Regions from separate parts of the Homo sapiens genome. Here all the other regions are linked to region 1. The links are contacts of gene promoters, found by promoter capture Hi-C in blood cells and fetal thymus (Javierre and others, 2016). All regions are on one chromosome and are shown on one strand. The core of a region is centred on a gene start or on the middle of the fragment in contact, and the rest is flanking DNA. Distances in the headings are between cores, read along the strand shown.

What was found. Contacts are between HindIII fragments. The CHiCAGO score rates a contact against its expected background, and 5 or more counts as called.
Region 2: a contact is called between a fragment that was not itself captured here and the fragment with the promoter of PFKFB3 in region 1, in 1 of 17 cell types (non-activated CD4 T cells). The highest score is 5.0, in non-activated CD4 T cells.
Region 3: a fragment that was not itself captured here is called in contact with the fragment with the promoter of PFKFB3 in region 1 in 1 of 17 cell types (total CD8 T cells); the score reaches 6.5 in total CD8 T cells.

The regions. Positions count from the first base shown.
Region 1 is chr10:6,201,319-6,204,322 of GRCh38, forward strand. PFKFB3 (6-phosphofructo-2-kinase/fructose-2,6-biphosphatase 3) reads left to right here and starts at 1,614. Exons shown (of 15, transcript NM_004566.4): 1 at 1,614-2,018. The coding sequence starts at 1,943. PFKFB3-AS1 (PFKFB3 antisense RNA 1) reads right to left here and starts at 1,439. Exons shown (of 2, transcript XR_007062045.1): 1 at 1,122-1,439. RefSeq lists enhancers at 1-284, 839-1,343, silencers at 87-306, 1,337-1,666, 1,717-1,826, 1,947-2,456, 2,687-2,766 and a cis regulatory region at 1,277-1,808. The HindIII fragment of the contact is 24,291 bases long and covers 1-3,004 here.
Region 2 is chr10:6,621,647-6,624,912 of GRCh38, forward strand. It overlaps LINC02648 (long intergenic non-protein coding RNA 2648), which reads left to right. Exons shown (of 6, transcript NR_120634.1): 3 at 64-216. Among named protein-coding and RNA genes, the nearest start is that of LINC02648, 4.6 kb to the left of the region's middle. The HindIII fragment of the contact is 742 bases long and covers 1,571-2,312 here.
Region 3 is chr10:6,686,799-6,689,930 of GRCh38, forward strand. No RefSeq gene overlaps it. Among named protein-coding and RNA genes, the nearest start is that of LINP1, 49 kb to the right of the region's middle. The HindIII fragment of the contact is 151 bases long and covers 1,232-1,382 here.

The sequences.
Region 1 (3,004 bases), core at 364-2,863:
CAAATGCAACGCATCGGGTTTCTGAACAGCCGCCAGAGCGCGGAAACCAGACCGTCAGCAAAGCTGTCGCGGGAACAGGGGCTCTGAGAGGGCGGCGCGGGGGGCGGGGTGCCGGAGTGGGGGTCGAGGCGGGAGGGGGAGTGGGGGTCGAGGCGTGGGGGAGGGTGGCGGGGCACAGGCCAGGTGGCCGATGTTGCGCGTTCCGGGGCCCCTCGGCAGGCGGCGGGTCGGGAGGAGTGGAGGCCCGGGTGGGGCGGGCGCGCGGGGCGGGAGCAGCCCCGGTCGCCGCCTGGGCGCGGGCGCCCTCCCTGTGGAGCATGCGGGACGTGAGCGACGTGTGGCAGCCTCTGCGCAGACTTTTCCGCCGCGGTGTAGGTTTCAGCGAGCGCCGCCTTCCCTCCAATCACAGCCCAGCCTCAGCGCTAAGTGTGCACCTCTCTGCAAGGCGGCGCAGCGCTCCCGTACTGAGGCTTCGTTTGCAAAAGTTACATCCGTCCCGGCGCGGGCGGCGGTTCCCCACCAAAAGCAACCCAGATCTTCCCCGCACGCCTCTGACCTGACTGCACGACTGTCACAAGTCGCGAGCTGGTGCAAACTGCGAGGGCCGGGAAAGGAGACGGGGCACGCATGCACCAAAAAGTGGGGAGGCAGAGCTGCAGGGTGTGCAGGATAACGGAGTGAATTTTAGGAGTCTGCCTAATAAGGGGCCGCCCCCAATAGTTTTCCCTCGACTTAGGTAATGAATTGCAGATCGAAATGGGTCTAGTTTTATTCATTCTTCTACTCGGGGCGATAAAGGTTTATTGAATGGTGTACATGGTGAGTGTGAAAACCAGATGCCAGCTGCCCCCAGCCCCAGTCCACTTCAGTCCAGCTCCCCGGGGCTTTCCCGCCCCCTCCTCGTACCCAGCACCGCGGGCCTCTCAAGGTTCCCAGTCTTTGGGCTAGGGGAGGGGAGCAAGGCTCAGTTCAAGTCCAGGTTTCTAAGGGATTCAGCAAAGTGGACAAGGACGAGGTGAGGTGGGAGGATCAGGGAAGCCTCCTCCCCGCGGGTCGCCCGGGTCGTGGCGGGGGATGGGCTCACGGGTATTATCAGGGAGCAGCCTGGCCCATGTCCTTACCTGGACTGCGCCTGCCCCACAGCGCGTGTTAGGAATGCAGAGTATTGGGGCTCCATGGCCCTAAAGGAGCTGCATTGGTAGGATGCACTTTAAGCAGCTTCCCAAGGGATTCGGCTGCGGGGTCCACGGTCTACACTGGGCAGGACTGCGTCTCTGCTCTCCTCCCGGCCAGCACAGTTGAGGTGAGGGGCCGGAATTAGTCGGGGAAGCTGTGCCAGACGTCCCGAGGGGACAACGGGACGAGGGGATAACAGCAGCCAGGACCCTTCAGCAGGGCTGGGCGCGCTCCAGGCCCGGGGCAGGGCGGCGGGAGCTGGTGCACCGCCGTCGCCGGCCCGCAGGGGGAGCTCGCAGGCTGCTTCCCGGCTCGCCCACCCTCCTCCCCACGTGGAAGGGGGCTGGGACCCAAGGAATGCGGCCCGCCCCGAGGCTGACGTACGCGTCTGCGGCCAGCCCGGACTCTTTAAAAGCCGGCGGTGCGCGGGGCATCCCAGCCAAGCCGGAGAGGAGGCGAGCAGCAGGGCCTGGTGGCGAGAGCGCGGCTGTCACTGCGCCCGAGCATCCCAGAGCTTTCCGAGCGGACGAGCCGGCCGTGCCGGGCATCCCCAGCCTCGCTACCCTCGCAGCACACGTCGAGCCCCGCACAGGCGAGGGTCCGGAACTTAGCCCAAAGCACGTTTCCCCTGGCAGCGCAGGAAACGCCCGGCCGCGCGCCGGCGCACGCCCCCCTCTCCTCCTTTGTTCCGGGGGTCGGCGGCCGCTCTCCTGCCAGCGTCGGGATCTCGGCCCCGGGAGGCGGGCCGTCGGGCGCAGCCGCGAAGATGCCGTTGGAACTGACGCAGAGCCGAGTGCAGAAGATCTGGGTGCCCGTGGACCACAGGCCCTCGTTGCCCAGATGTGAGTGCAGCTGCGCGGAGCCGGGTTGCAGGGCGGGCTGCGCCGGGCCGGGCCATTGTGTGGGGCGGCTTTGTGCCGACGCCCCTCTGCGGGGGGCGCGCCCGTGCGGGTCGCGCCGGCGGGGCGGGGCGGAGGCGCGGGCTGCGCGTCCTTGGCCGGGCGGCGGGGGCGCTGTGGCCCTTGTCCCGGTGGCTGCCCCGCCGGCCCGGAAACGGCGAGTGCGCCCGGCCGGGCTGCGTACCCCGAGACGGAGGGACGCGCGCGCCTGGGCAGGCCAGGGAGGGGATCCACATCCTCCGCGATCCCTGTCCTCGACACCCGTCTCGGGCGGCCGTCGCCGGAGCGCAGCCCAGGGACCCGGCCGCTCGCGCCTCCGCCCCTTTTCACCGTCCGGATCTCCTCTCTCTGCATGTTTCCATCTCCTCTCCCGCCTTGCTATGCATTCCTATCCCCTCGCTTCACTTAATAACCTATTTCTCTGTCCTGTTTTCTCTTTCGATATATATGTCTCTGTTTTTCTCTGTTTCTACCTCCTTCCTCTCCCACTGTTTCTTTCTGCTTTTATCTCTTTCTCTCTCCTTCTCTCTCTTCCGTGCATCTCCAGTGCCATGGGGGCGCCCGTGCTGGGGGCGCCAGGAGAGCCACCTGGAGCCACGCCTGTGTCCCCGGCTTTGGGGAGGGTCGGTGGGTTGGTGAGTGCACGGTTGGCGCTGCTCCACGCGCCCCGGGCGCACGCACCCCCCGGTGCTCGGAATTGGCTGGCAGTACCCTGCCCCGCCCCGCCGGTCGCCGCCCCCGCCACCAGCGATCGCTTGGGAGAGGGTTACCTCGAGCTCCACCTCAGCTGCGGAGCGCCGCCGCGGAAAAGGGCGGGTGGGCAGCGCAGAGGGGCGACGCTGCCTCTCCAGGTAATGCGCCCCGGCTCCCATGGGCTGGACAGGGAGCCGCCTGGTGCGGTTTTGCCCAGGTCAGGTCGTAGCCTGAGT
Region 2 (3,266 bases), core at 692-3,191, 420 kb after region 1:
TGCTGTCGCAGAGAGGCAGAGAGTGAATTCCCAAGAGTTATGAGTCATCCATTCCCCTTTCAGAGCATGCAGTGACTGAGAGGAAGAGAGATACTAACACTTGAAGTAATCCAGTCTATCAATAGGAGATGGACTGCTTTGATTTAAAGCGATTTACAAAAGGATTTGGATACCTCATCTCTCCTGTTTCGCCAAGGTCTTGACTCATCGCTGCAGGTTGTATAATTAGTCTCATTAATCTAGCAAATGATGGCAAAATGCTTGGTAATGATGTCTAACTGGGGTTCCTTTCCAAGGAACCTTTGTTGTTTAATTAGGAGATAATGGATGAGCTTGTAGAGAGACCAGGGTTATAAAAGGCAGTAGCATGTCAATGTGCCCATGCCTAGTTCAATACAATGGTTTTTAAGCCAAGTATTCAAATAAATTGACATTATGTAGGTACATGAATTTAAAAGGGGTCATTATTCACTAACTATATTTTAACATATGCTTAGAGCAACCCATTACTGCTGGGGATAATAAACGGTGCCCAGATGAACAACCACATTGCATACAAAGGATGGTGTCTGAGATCACTACTGGGCCCGACTTAGCCACCATCTTTCCAAATAGAATCATAGGTTTGGAAATTTATCCCTTCTATGGATGAAGCACCAAACTATTAAACTGCAAAACCATTCTGTATTTATTCTTTCCAGCTGCAGTTCCCTTGACAATAAATGAAGAGTTTGTCCTCTGATTATGTTTGATTTGTTCTCTTATTTACCCCAAAAGATTATATTAAAATTTATATTTCAGTTTGGATGGTTTCAGTTGTAAGTAACCAAAAAGCAAACTCAGACTGTCTTAAACAAAAAGGGAGATCTAGCGGCTAGAGGCAGAGCAGGCCTAGCTCTTGAATCAGAGTCCTGGTTTTAGTCTTTGATGTGTCTCTCCACCCTGCCCTTCTCTGACACTCAAATTTCATGGGTGCTACACGTAGAGGGAGGGTAGCATGGAAGGTGTGGAGATAACTACTATGTCTACTTACGTGTCCACGAGTAACCTCATCACCACGTTGGGAGAAGCTACATACGATACTTTTTGGGAGAAACTGAGCTCCGGAGCTGCTTGGTCAATCTCCCTGTAACCGAATCACAGGTTCACTTGATCACCACCTGCAGAGTCCAATCAACAAGAGCAAGGTCTGGTATAAAGAAAGTGACATTTTATTCTAAAGCTAGCTTACGGGAAGAAGTCCAGGCTTCCTGCCTTAAGGGTACTGCTTCAATTTTGGAGGAGAAAGTGGGCACTTTTAAAAGGGGGCCTGGCATGAGCGGCATGCGGGGGAGGGAGTGAGCAGCTGGGGGTCCATGGGACTTGCCTCGGTGCTTTATCTACTGCTCAAGCCGGCACCATCACAGGCAGAACCAGGTTGCAAAGCAGACTTGTCTCAAGATATGCTCCAGGTGGGAGAGAGTTTCATGCCGGGAATACTTTGGGTTGTAAATTGACTGTTGTTTCTTGAGGCATCTCCTTGGGGAGAGGTTTCTGCTCTGGAGCCTCTAAGTAAGTATACAGTTAGATAAGCTTGCCTTGTAAAGAACATCTGGAGAAGGCAGAATGTTATAATTGCATTTCTAAAGAGCTAAGTAGGAAGTGGGGAGATGGGAAAAGGAGAAAAGAGAAAAGAAGAAAATAATAATGAAAAAATAACGCGTTCTCTTTGTCTTAATAAATGGGGATACTTGGTTACATGCCCGCTGACAAAGACTCTCTTCTTGATTAAGCTAAGGCTCCTCTGAGCCATCTTCTCAACTAGGCCTTAACCTTGGCCCATGAGGATGGCTGACTCTCAGCACAGACAATTTTTTCTACCCATTCCCACACTAAGAGACACAAACAAACACTATCATTGTAACCGAACTCAGATCTGGGCTACTCATTGCTTGAAAGCCAAAAACTCAAGAGAGCTTTGGTGAAAAGAAAGTTCGCTTCATTCAAGAAGCCGGCAAACCAGAGGAGGGAGTGAACTAGCACTCAGAGACCACCTCTCGGAGCTTTGCTTCTGGATCTTGATCCAGGGGGGGTTTAAGGGAAATTAGGGGAAATGATGACCAAAACATTTCTGTGAAATGTGCACAATAGGCAGCCAGTTAATCATTGCTTTCTTCATCAGTGTTTCGTGAGCTTCTACAGGTTCGTCAGCCCATTCTTAGAGCTGTTGGTTGGCAAATTTTCTTTTATCTCTGTTGAAGATCTTGTTTTCCTGTAGCTGTTATTAGTAAATAATGCACAAACTCAAGCGAAGCAATAATTGCATTCAAGCAAGCTTTTCTCTAACAAGGAGTCAGCACTGTCACAGCACGGTTCCTAATAGCTCAAGGATGCACTCCTGGGATGAGGACTCCAGGCTCCTTAAGTTCCTGCCTGGGAAAACTCAAGGCTGCCAGAATGATTTACTTTTTGTTCCAGCCAACCCCTGAAGATAGGGCACCTGCCTTCTAGTCTCCATGGGAGGACAGAAGCCTAACTGGATAATCGCCAGTTAACAAACACAGATGGACTAATCACGTAAACCAACCACCTCCTTCCCGCTTTTTTAAGTTTCTGCTTCCCTGACTCCACTGAGCCTATGTTCCATCCCTACTCCTACTTTCTGATTCTTTCCTTGAAACACCCAGTCACCTGTGCACAGAACAAAAGATGAACTCAGTTTATGCTGGACACTTCCCTTTGCAATAGACTGAATAAAATCTGTTCTCATCAACTTTAACTAGCGTCCAGCATTGGCACCATGTTCTTTAAGAATGACTTCCAAGTCCCTACTCCTTCCCAGCCCTCTTCATTGTGGTTTGTGTTTGTAGAACACAGAGTTAAAGTAAGACCTGTTATTGTTATGGACCACAGGTTCTTAAGCTCCCACGCAATAGAAATTGACACAAAGCCAAGCAAGTTTCCCAGACAAGGCTTTATTGAGGGCTTATGCTTGAGCACAAGGGAGACAGCACAGGATGAAGGATTCCCTGGCTGGCTCCCTGGGAAGAGCTGCTTGGGATCTTTTATTTGGGGGAAGAAAAGGGGTCAACGTTAAATAAAAGGTATGTAAACATGATTTGGAAGGAATTTCAGCCATGCAAGGGCAGTGTAGAGACATACTTTTTCATATATCACATGGCAGATAAGCCTCTCATCGGGCAGGGATTTTAGTATTATAATGAGGCAAGGGTCCGGATTGGTCATTCTCATGGTCTTGTGCACATGCAGGTGACAGGGTTAACTCC
Region 3 (3,132 bases), core at 57-2,556, 490 kb after region 1:
GTGCTGAATATTTCTGAGCCTCAGCCTTCTCTTGAGTAAAATATCATCAGCTATTACACCTATTGTAAAGCTGGCTCACTGTGCACACTATTCCAACACTGCAGCATTCTGCATCTGGGGCTGCAGTTTCTACCACTTGCACAAGACAGGTGAGAGCGAGCCCCCACACAACAAGTTAAGCAAAGTGGCTTTATGACTCATGGATAGGCAGCAAGGGACAGGAGAAAGCTAGGGGTCACGGTGTACCAGTCCCCCAAGGCTCAGGAAACTGTCAGGGCAGATGCAGTCTCACATTGCTTACTGCAGCCGATGGACTGCAAAAGCTCTCCACCCTGGGTTTTATACTCCAGGGAAAACTTGGCTTCCTGGGCTAAAGCGTTGTAGGAAGGATAGAAACAGAACCCAGGCTGTTTTGGCCAGTGCCTCCTCATCTCAGGATGTTGCATCCCCAGCACATTCTAAGGTTATTCTGAGAACTACCAGTGACAAAGAGGGAAGAGCTGGGTCACCAAGGCCATCCAGGGACCTGCTCTGCATCTTTCTCTTGAGAAAATTGTGAGGATCAAGTAACTGACTATGTTACTTGATCATATTTGAGGTGAACCCAGTGGGGTAAAACCGTAAACCCAACCCTCTTCTTCCTCCCACTGTACCTTCCAATCCAAGTTTGGGTCAGTTCTTGTTCTGTCCCGGCAGGCAGGTCTTATAGTTTCTGGTCCATTTTAGTTGCAAGAACCTCGTAGTTCAGTAGTTTAAACACCCAGTGCAGTGTAATGATGCAGTTAGAGCTCTTGTTCCATTTAGAGCTTCTCCTTCTGTTAGTATCACTTAGACCTGGAAGCCTGAGGTAGAGTTGGGGAGCGGTGTCTGCTGCTTCCTTAGCCCCTCCCTGCCCCACTCCTACTCTCATTCTTGGTGCCTTCGGGGCAGGTAGGGGACAGGGGACGAGGAGAGTAAGTGGCTGGAATTGTCTTAATCTAGCAGTGACACTCTCTGGCTCTGCAGATGTCCATGCAGATGCTGTCCCATGGGGCTCTTTGGAGGGTTGTGAGATGCCCAATAAGCTGGGTCCACCCCTACAGCAGCTCCTGCACATGCCAGGGAGCCTCTTCGATGCTCCCCTCCTTCCTTGGGCCTCTGAAGATCCATCCTTTTCTGCCTCCCTTTTTTCACAGGCAGTCTTCCCAGACAAAGTCCAGTGCAAAGAGACCCACTGGCTCATGGCCACTCAAGCTTCATGTCACCCCATGTGGCTGGCCAGGAGCAGGTCTCTCCAATGCAGTTCCGCATCTTTTTGTACTTTGCGGCCTTGGACCTCAGCGCAGGATATCACCCTTACATCTCCCAGGCTTGCTTCACATACCCATTGCCTGTGCCACCCAAGCTTCAGAGGATACAGATAAATGTGTCCCCTTGAAACCCCTCTCAGGTGTTTAAGGTGGGCAAGATACAGCCCCTGAGCAATGGTCTCAGCATGCCAGCAGTGCTCTCCAAGGTCTGTCCTCCCAACTCTTTCTGCAGCCTCCATCTGGTTTATTACACACTCTGGAAGACAGCAGATCAGCGAACCATTACAAAACTTGCTCTCAGACACCACCTTCCAAGTCCTGAATAGATGGTCTGGACTTTGAAATGGGGGATACTTGGTACTTCCCCACCGCCAAACGTCCTTTTTCATATACCGTGTGTCATGTCTAAAGCACATATAAACTGTGTCTGGCACATAAGTGCTCAGTTAATATTTGCCATGATTATTTCCCAAGGCCTGTTGGTATCTCTTTGGACACTCTGTCTAAATTTTATTCTGCCTCAGTTTGTCAGGGTTCTGGACAAATTGTCCACAGGGAGGACTCAGGCCTCGGCTCAGATTGGGCAAGAACAAACCACACCCCTGCCATCAGCCAAGCTCCTTGCCTACCCTGAGTCCATAGCTGCCCTTTCCAGAGGAGACCTGAGGGTGCACCCACGTAAAGGGGGCAATTTCAATGCACAAAAGAAATACTACTATAGCTGTGAAAAGGTACTGCTAGGAAGGGCATAAAAGGGCCCCTGGCTGAATGCCAAGTATAAAACAGAAACAGAGTCCTCAAGGACAAGTTGTCAGGAGCCACAAGAAGGGGGTCCTTCCAGAAGCTGTGGGAATCCAGGGCAGCGGGAAAAAGCCTTACAGGGTCAGGGGTAAGAGCTAGTGGGGAACCTTCATCAGCCTGGAGCAGGTCCATAAAGCTGGAATAAAAAGTGAGAAAAGAAATACCTTACAGGTGAGGCTTGCACCTGAGGTTGCATGTCTGCAGGCTGATCATATAAAAGATTTATTTCTTCATGTTGTACCTTTGAAGATGATCAGATTATGTTTGCTAACCATCGTGAGCTTCTTGGATGAAAAACGCAAGATGAACCTTGGATAAGTATCCACACACACAGCAATCAGCCAGCAGGTAGGATTCGGTCTCTGTGCTGAGTCATTTCCGTATTACATTGAAATAAGTAATACAGTTCTCTTGGCAGTATTTTTGTTTTTAAAGTAAGTTGGGATGAAAGCTGGCGCCTAGGCTATTTATCCTCATCTGAAATGTGTGCAAAACAACACTGAGAAAATACTCTTTGGTGTAGACAGGAGGAGTCCTTAATAAAGTATTTATTTGCACCTGATTTCTCCTTGTTTTTACTGGGTTCATTTAATTTGATAGATCATCTACGCCTCAGTATAATGCCATGGAAATCTAATGAAGATGCATAGTGCTGAGTGCATTTTCTGTACCGATTCAGCCACTGTGGTTGGGATAACCATTGAGTTTGTCTTAGTCGGCTGAGACTGGCAGAACAAGACACACAGACCAGGCAGCTCCAACAGCAGACATTTATTTCTTGCCGTTCTGGAAGCTGGAAGTCCAAGATCAAGGTGCCAGAGCTGGTTTCTCCTGAGGGTTCTTTCTGTGGCTTGCAGAAGGCCGTCTTCTCGCTCTGGCCTCCCACAGCCTTCCTCTGTGTATGCACATGCCAGGCGTCTCTTCCCCTCCTGATAAGGACACCTGTCCTATTGGATTAGGGCCTACCCTTAGGCTCTCATTTAATCTTAATTATCTTGTTAAAAGCCCTGTCTTCAAATACAGTTACATTGGGATTTAGGGC